Regions from separate parts of the Homo sapiens genome. Here region 1 is linked to region 2. Evidence: promoter capture Hi-C in 16 types of primary human blood cells and fetal thymus (Javierre and others, 2016). All regions are on one chromosome and are shown on one strand. The core of a region is centred on a gene start or on the middle of the fragment in contact, and the rest is flanking DNA. Distances in the headings are between cores, read along the strand shown.

What was found. The method cuts DNA at HindIII sites, captures the fragments that hold promoters and counts their contacts. A CHiCAGO score of 5 or more calls a contact.
Region 1: a fragment that was not itself captured here is called in contact with the fragment with the promoter of CLEC18A in region 2 in 4 of 17 cell types (endothelial precursors, M2 macrophages, M0 macrophages and 1 more); the score reaches 7.0 in endothelial precursors.

What each region holds. Positions count from the first base shown.
Region 1 is chr16:69,912,120-69,916,490 of GRCh38, reverse strand. The region is part of intron 9 of WWP2 (WW domain containing E3 ubiquitin protein ligase 2); the gene reads right to left. Among named protein-coding and RNA genes, the nearest start is that of MIR140, 19 kb to the left of the region's middle. The HindIII fragment of the contact is 6,162 bases long and covers 1-4,371 here.
Region 2 is chr16:69,949,465-69,953,776 of GRCh38, reverse strand. It overlaps CLEC18A (C-type lectin domain family 18 member A), which reads right to left and starts at 2,443. Exons shown (of 12, transcript NM_001370523.4): 1 at 2,287-2,443; 2 at 1,651-1,742. The coding sequence starts at 2,410. RefSeq lists enhancers at 670-1,283, 2,510-3,122, 3,123-3,736. The HindIII fragment of the contact is 42,237 bases long and covers 1-4,312 here.

The DNA.
Region 1 (4,371 bases), core at 1,123-3,622, 37 kb after region 2:
CTACAAATAGCCATCAGAGTAACCCACTAGACTGAGCCCTTCGGTCACACTCCTGCTCAAAAACTTCAATTGACCAGCCTAAGCAACAGAGGGAGACCCCCATCTCTACAAAAATATTTTTTAAAAATTAGCTGGGGGTGGTGGAGTGTGCGCCCTTGGTCCCAGCTACTTGGGCAGCTGAGGTGGGAGGACTGCTTGTGCCTGGGAGATCAAGGCTACAGTGAACTATGATTATGCTGCTACATTCCAGCCTGGGCGACAGAGTGAGATCCTGTCTCAAACAACAACAACAACAACAACAACACTTCCATTGACTCCCCATTGCCCTTGAGTCAAAATCCTTTAGTAAGTACACAAGGCTCACAAAAATCTGGAACCTTCCTAGCTTTCTCATAATTTGTCTAAACTAGTGATTTTTATTTATTTTTGTTACCAAAGATTTTTTTTTTTTTTTGACAGGGTCTCACTCTGTTAGTCCAGGCTAGAGTAGAGTAGCAGGATCATGGCTCACTGCAGCCTCACCTCCCAGGCTCAAGTGATCCTCCCACCTTAGCCTCCTGAATAGCTAGGACCACAGGAATGCACCATCACATTCAACTAATTTTTTAAAAAAATTTTTGTAGACATGGAAGCCTCCCCGTGTGGCTCAGGCTAGTCTCAAACTCCTGGGCTCAAGCAATCCTCTCGCCTCAGCCTCCCAAAGTGCTAGGATTACAGGTGTGAGCCCCTGCACCCGGCCCGAAGTCATATGTATATAGTTTTGAAACATAAACAGGACTGCAGGGAATATAATGAAAAACGATGGTCTCTTGCCCCATTGCTGACTCCTGTTCCCCGAAGGCAACCACTTTCAACTCTCAATTGCTTCTACTAGTATATGTGTACATCTGTGTCTCTAAATAACATGTCTATTTCATTGCTTTTTGTCTTTTCTTTAATACAGAGACAGGATCTCACTATGTTGCCCAAACTGGATTTGAACTGCTGGGCTCAAACTATCCTCCAGCCTCAGCCTCCTGAGTAGCTGAGTAGTCTCAGGTGTGCACCACCAAGCCTGGCTCATTATTTCTTGATTTTTGCCATATTTGCTATCGCTTATGGACTTTCCACTACCAAAGATGAGGGATGAGGATATAGGTATTGCATTCCATCCCTCAACTATCTCCTCCCCTCGTCCTCTCAATATGGAAACTCACCGTTAAATCAATATTCAGGGTTTGGATGACAATGTAGAATACTATAAGTACATTTCCTTACTTGTAACAACTTTTTTCTTTTTTCTGGAGGTGAGAACTTCCTTGTCGTCTTCTGTGTGGTTTTCAAGAACCTATCACTGATGCATCCCCAGATTCTCAGACGGGACAGGTGGCCTGGCAGTGGCCTTCCTCTCTCGGCCACATCTCTCCCTCATCTGACGGGGACAGTTGTGTGTCCATCTCACACCCGCTCTGTGTCCTTGACCTGACTTGCCTTCCCTTCTCCTCCTCCTGGGAGATTCCATGGCCTCGGGGTTAAGTTCCCTGTGTCTTGCATCCCATTCATTCTTCTTTCTTGGCTTCCTGGTGGGATTTGGTGCGATAAATCATGGAGTAGCTTCCAAGACAGGATGTATCAAGGTTAATTTTTTGAAGCCCAGAATGTCTGAAGATGCCTTGACTTCTACTCTCATATTCAAATGTTAAAATAACTCAAAGTTGATTTCTAGACAGGAAATCATTTTCTTTTTTGTTTCTTTGAGACAGGGTCTTGCTCTGTTGCCCAGGCTGGAGTGCAGTGGCATGATCATGGCTCACTGCAGCCTCGACCTCCCAGCTCAAGTGATCCTCCCACCTCAGCCTCCCAAGTAGCTAGGACTACAGGCACGCACCACCATGCGGGGCCAATTTTTTGTTTTTCTAAGAGATAGTGTCTCACTGTGTTGCCCAGGCTGGTCTTGAACTCCTGGACTCAAACGATCCTCCTGCCTTGGCCCCCCAAAGTGCTGGGATTAGACGTTTGAGCCACTGTGCCCGGCAGGAAATCATTTTCCATCGGAATTGTGAAGGTCCTGCTCTACAGCTGAGAAGAAGGATGGCACTCTTGGTTCCTGATCCTTTCTAGGTACTCTGTTTTTTCCCTCTGGAAGTTTCTGAGGCTGTCTCTTGGCACTCAGAAATTCAATCAGATGAGCCTTGGGGTGAGTCTTTTTTTATCCTCTGGGCTAGGCGTGTGGTGAGCTGTTTGAATCTGGATACTTGAGTTCTGGCAATTTTCTTTTCTAATGATTTCCTATTGCCTGTTTCTCTGTTCTTTCCTGCTATTCCGCAAGTTCTTGCTAAAGAACTATTCTTCAGATATTGAATGTCTTGGTCACATCTTCTCATCTTCTTATCTCCAAATTTATCACTTTCTTTTTTTTTTTTTTTTTTTTTTTTTTTTTGAGACAGAGTCTCGCTCTGTCGCCCAGGCTGGAGTGCAATGGTGTGATCTCAGTTCACTGCAACCTCTGCCTCCCAGGTTCAAGCGATTCTCCTTCCTCAGCCTCGCGAGTAGCTGGGATTATAGGCAAGCACCACCACGCCTGGCTAATTTTTTATATTTTTAGTAGAGACGGGGGTTTCACCATGTTGGCCAGGCTGGTCTCGAACTTCTGATCTCAGGTGATCCACCTGCCTCGCCCTCCCAAAGTGCTGGGATTACATGCGTGAGCCACCATGCTCAGCCCAAATTTACCTTTCAACCATTCTACTGAATTTTTCATTTCTGTTGTCATATATATTAATTTCTAAAAGCTCCTGTTTTCTGCCTGGTCCATTTCATGGCCTCCTGTTCTTGTTGCACAGATGCCATTATTTTCTCCCAAATCTTTGAGGATATCAATTATAATCTGGTTTTCCTTTCCAAAGCTGTTTTTCAGCTTCCTATATTGTTTTCACCAAGTCTCTTTTTTCTGTCTGCTCATCTTTGGCTGTTTGTTCACATTTATTTTTATTTATTATTATAATTTTTTGAGACAGGGTCTTGCTCTGTCACCCAGGCTGGAGCGCAGTGGCACAATCACGGCTCACTGCAGCCTCAACCTTCCAGGCCCAACTGATTCTCCCACCTCAGCCTCCCAAGTAGCTGGGAACACAGGCATACACCACCACACTCAGCTAATTTAAAAAAAACTTTTTTTTGGCTGGGCGTGGTGGCTCACGCCTGTAATCCCACCACTTTGGGAGGCCGAGGTGGGTGGCTCACCTGATGTCAGGAGTTCGAGACCAGCCTGGCCAACATGGTGAAACCCCATCTCTACTTTAAAAAAAAAATTACAAGAATTAGCTGGGCGTGGTGGCATGTGCCTGTAACCCCAACTACTTAGGAGGCTGAGGCAGGAGAATCGCTTGAACCTGGGAGGTGGAGGTTGCAGTGAGCCGAGATTGCGCCACTGCACTCCAGCCTGGGCAACGAGAGCAAAAATTCTGTCTCAAAAAAAAAAAAAAAAAAAAAAAAAAAAAAAAAAAAAAAAAAAAAATATATATATATATATATATATATATATATATATATATATTTTTTTTTTTTTTTTTTTTTTTTTTTTTTTTTGTTTTGTAGAGACTGGTTCTCCATATGTTGCCCAGGCTAGTCTCGAACTCCTGGACTCAAGCGATCCTCCCACCTTGGCCTCTGGAAGTTCTACTTCCAGATCCTCCTGCCTTGGCCTCTGGAAGTTCTACTATTACAGGTGTGAGCCACCGTGCCCAGCTGTGTTCATTCGCATTTAACAGTGAGCCACTAAAACACTGACTGAGTTCTGTATCCTCAGATGAGGGCTGCAGACTGTAGAGTGACCAGGAAGAGTCTCAGCTATTTCACTAGAAGGTTCCCAAATATCACAATCTATGTTTCTTTCTCTTAGACTATCACTTTCCCCAGCAAAAACAAACAAACAAACAAACAAAACTACCCTCCAATTTTCAGCCTGGGGAATGGAGATAGCATCCGCATTTAATCTCTTGTTTCTGAGTTCATCCTGGCCTTCAGCTATAGTTTGTGTCCCCCGACCTGGTCCTCCTACTCTCTCTGCAGCTTCTCAATGTCAGAGGCAGTCATGAGGCTGTGTGTGTGTGTGTGTGTGTGTGTGTGTGTGTGTGTGTGTGAATCTAACTCCCTGCACAAACTTCCAACTCATCTTCCAACTGATCTAAAACCAATGAGGTTTTGTTTTGTTTTTTTTTGAGATGGAGTCTCGCTCTGTCGTCCAGGCTAGAGTGGTGCAGTGGTGCAATCTCAGCTCACTGTAACCTCCGCCGCTGGGGTTCAAACAATTCTCCTGCCTCAGCCTCCCAAGCAGCTGGGACTACAGGTGTGTGCCACCATGCCTGGCTAATTTTTTGTATTTTTAGTACA
Region 2 (4,312 bases), core at 1,194-3,693:
GTGGAGAAATCCCGGCTTACTGCAACCTCCGCCTCCCAGGTTCAAGCAATTCTCCTGCCTCAGCCTCCCAAGCAGCTGGGATTACAGCCATGTGACACCACGCCTGGCTAATTTTTGTATTTTTAGTAGAGACGGGGTTTCACTGTTGGCCATTGCTGGTCTCAAACTGCTGACCTTAGGTGATCTGCTTGTGTCAGCCTCCCAGAGTGCTGGGATTACAGGTGTGAGCCACCGTGCCCAGCCCCCTCCCTCTTCTTAAACAAGTGGGCCTGGCAATCACCACCCCTGGGTGACTTGGTGCAGTCCCCTGATCTCCCGAGACTCCCTGAGCTCATCTGTAAACGGAGCAGGGAGGTGCCTGCAGGATAGGACTCACAAGCACTGAGTGGATGCAGGGAGGGGGGCCCCTCGGGGCTGCACCCCAAGCCAACTTCATCCTGCACTAATGTCCATCGGGGTTTTACCTCTGATGAAGGCTGGGGCCAGGAGCTGGGGGCTCCCCGGGGTCCCTCAGCAGCCCTCCACCCCCACAAGACCTTCAGTCTCCACTGTGTCCAAAGAGGGGGTGCCCTGGAGCCCTAGAGGCCCGGAGGGTGCTCGGGGCCGGGCCACGAGGGAGGCTGAGCCATGGAGCTCCATTTGCACCTTTACGGAAATGAAGTTTTCTAGGACTTTGACAAAAGGGCCCTGGAAAGGGTGCCAGCTGCCAGCCAACGACCACCGCAGCCCCTCCTGGGGTCCCAGGCAGGAGTACCCAACCACGGAGGTCACAGCTGGGAGCACCCCTGGTTGCCCAGGGTCTGAGCCTGAGGAGAGGCAGAGCCACTCAGGGCTGGGAATCGGGGAGAAGCGACCCCCCGCATTTAGCCACCCCACCCCCACCTCCTGGGAAACTGACCCTAGAGTGCTCAAGGTCGCCACTGTGGCCGCCTGCCTTGGAGGAGTTCATGGGAAGCAGCCATGGGGAACCCTCCCGCCCCCACCACCCTGCCCTGGCTCCCTGGCCTGCTAACATGGGCTGGGGCTGCTGGGGTCCCAGACAAGGGGGGGCAGCGTTTCTGAGCCTCCAGATGACAGTCCCAACCCCGCAGCCCCAGCCGGGCTGGTGGGGAATTCTATACCCCCGACCCCCGGCCCCTGCTGAAAATGTGGAAAATGTGGACGAGTGAGTGAGCAGAGAACATGGGCAAGGCCCGTCCTCGTGGCTCAGATAAGCTCAGGAGGAGGCGCTGGGTCCTTGCCGCACAGAAGCCCCTCCCCAGCCCAGCACGACCTTCTCCCTCCCTGGCCCGGCCGCCCATCCTGCAGGGCTCCTCGTGAAGCTCCCCTTCCCTGGAGGAGGGGATCCGGCTCCTCCTGTGGCTCCTGGTCTCTGTGACAACAAGATGCCAGGGAAGGCCCAAGGTCCTGCCCTTCAGGCGAGTGGGAGCCAAGGGGCCCGACCTCCTGAACTGAGGGTGGGGGGTTAAGAAATTGCAGAGACCCCCAGCAACCAGGGCCTCCGTCCCTCAGGGACAAGGTGGCTGGCTGTGCCTGCCCACCCTGGTCAAGTGGAAGGGCACCTGGACAGGCGTGGCCTCCTGAGCCGCCCTCTGGGGTCCGCGCCTCCGGCCACCCCCCTGGCAGAGCCCAGCTGGGTCGGGTACTCACCAGCCTCCGCATGTCAGCCGCAGGGGGCTGGACCCAGCTGCGCAGGCGGTTGTGCAGGGAGAGGAGCAAGAAACTCTCCTTCCTGTTCAGGGCTGGGGTGGGGAGAGAAGGTCAGGCAGCCCGAGGATGGGGGGACCTGAACCCAACACACGGCAGAATAAGCATGTGTCCCTGCCCTTGGAAAACAAGATGGGAGAGGAGTGTGGTGGGTGCAGGGGACGTGGGGCATAGCAATGGAGCGAGGCTGAGAGAGAGACCAGGTACAGCAGGCGTGGGCTGAGTGCTGGGGTTGGGGTGGCGGGAGGGAACAGCGGTGCGGGCTGGGTGTAGGGGCCAGCCCTGGCTCCCGCAGGCCCCTGTCTGGGGCTCCTCCGGGCCACGGATTTCTCCAGGCCCCAGCCACAGCGCCCCTCGGCGTTCCTCCTTGACCCCAGCCCTGGTCCTCCTTCCTCCTCCTTCCTCCCCAGTCCAGCATCCACCCCTCACCGCCCCCGGGCTGTCCCAGGGCTTCCTCATTAAACCACCCGCACGGCCTGGGGCTCAGGCCTGGGACCGGGCTTCCAGAAGTCTCCTAGCACCCACTCCTCAGAGCTCGTAATGGTGCCTCCACCTACCTCCTCACCAGGTGTCCCTTACCTCCGGCCATCGGAGCCTGCTCCTGCAGCTGGGGTGGCCACACCTCTGCCCAGGCGGTGCCAAGGAGGGCCAGGAGCACAGCCAGGAGATGCCCCCGGCCAGGGGAGGTCTCTGGATGCAGCATGGGTCTGTTGGGCCCGTCAGGCGCTCCGTGCACAGCCTGGCTCAGCCACCCGGCTTGTTTCTCAGGCTGGATGGAGCTATTCACAATCTCCAGGAGTCAGGCTGGGCTGGTGGACAAAAGAGGGAGGCTGGTGAGTGAGTAATCAGTGTGTCCAGACAGCCTCCTGTTGGCGCTGGCATGAAAAGAGACAACTCCGGGGGATGCCTGCCTGCTCCGGCCTCGGCCTGGCCAGCCCGCCCCCGACAGCAGGCAGAGTGGCGTGCACTGACCCGCGGCCCCTGCTAATCATTGTGGGATTATTAGCACCCTTGGGGAGCCCCCAGAGACCCCGCTGATTGGCCCGCGGACATTCCAGTGCTGCAGATTAGTGACCGATGGCCGTGTCCTGGCTGGGACAGTGTCCTCCGAGCCCACTGATGGCTTCCGCTCCCCAGCCCCGGGCCCTGGGAGGAGGACCTCGGCTATGGTCCTTCTGGTGAGCAGGAACTGGGCAAGACCCCAGGGGAGTTCTTTCCTTTCTTGGGAAGCTCGTCCCAACCCCCCAGCCATGAATTAAACATAGGCAAGAGGTAACCGCACACCAGAGGGGTGCAATCTGTGGGCTCAAAGGGGGGTGGGCTGAGGCCGCACCTGCACGAGGAAAAGGGTGCCTTAGGAAAGTCTGTCTGGGCAGGGTCGGGGGCTGGGCCCAGCCCCGGTGCCCACCACCCTCACCCACGTGACTACAGGCCAGGGGGGGAGTGAGGCAGGAGGAGTCAAAGCAGGCGGGGACCAGAGCACGTGATGCCCTGGGCTGACTCCAGTCCTGCTGGGATCACGTCCGCCTCTAGAAAAACAGGCGGCGTAGCAGGTGGGCAGCACGTTGCCATGATGTGCCGTGGCCCGGCCGTGGCTGGCGTGATCCCACCAGAGTGAGCTGGAGCAGATCTGCACCATGGGCCAAGTTTCTCAGAAAATACATGGCTTCCTGCGGGCTGCAACCTAATGCCCACGTTCCTCTCGGGGAAGACCAAAGGTTATTCAACCAGGGCAAAGGACAGCCTTGCAAACCAACTACGTCCTCCTTCTGGAGTTTGTGTGACCCCTGGCCCCTGAGCCCACACCCTCTCGGAGCGGGGTTCCAACTCTGTGGAAGCTCTGCTGAGATGCAGGTAGGGTTGGCTTTCCTGGGGAAACACCAGTGGAATGTGGCTATCGTCATGGATGCCAGGGATGGGGATGAGGCCAGGCATACAGGCCATGAAGGCGGTCTGGAACTGCATGTCCCCCACAATACCTAGGGGCTCAGGAGTTTCTTCTCCCTCAAACAGAAACCCAGCACCCTCAGGGTCACTGCGTGTGGGTCCTAGCAATGCTTAATAGCTACCTGTTTTTTGATGTATTTTTATTTTTATTTTTTAGACAGTTTCACTCTGCCACTCAGGTTGGAGTGTTATAATCTCAGCTCACTGCAGCCTTGACCTCTTGGGCCCAAGTGATCCTCCCACCTCAGCCTCCCAAGGAGCTGGGACCAGGTGTGTGCCACCATGCCTGGCTAATTATTATCATTTTTTTTGGTAGAGACAGGATTTCATCGTCTTGCCCAGGCTGGTCTCCAACTCCTGGGCTCAAGGGATCTTCCCACCTTGGCCTCCCAAAGTGCTGGGGTTGCAGGCATGAGCCACCACACCTGGCCAAGCCACCTGTGTTTATGGAGCTCACAAAGCCTGTTTGCATGTGTGAGTTCAAGTTATTGCCACAAGAACCTGGTGCAGTAGCAGATGGGATGCCCGTCGTGTAGATGAGGAAACGGGCTTAGTGTGTCTAAGGGGCTTGTCCAAGGTCACTCAGCGAGTGCATGGAGCATCCCAGCTAATCCAAGGTCTCTGCCTTCCCATTCCCAACGCTTTAATTCACATCCTG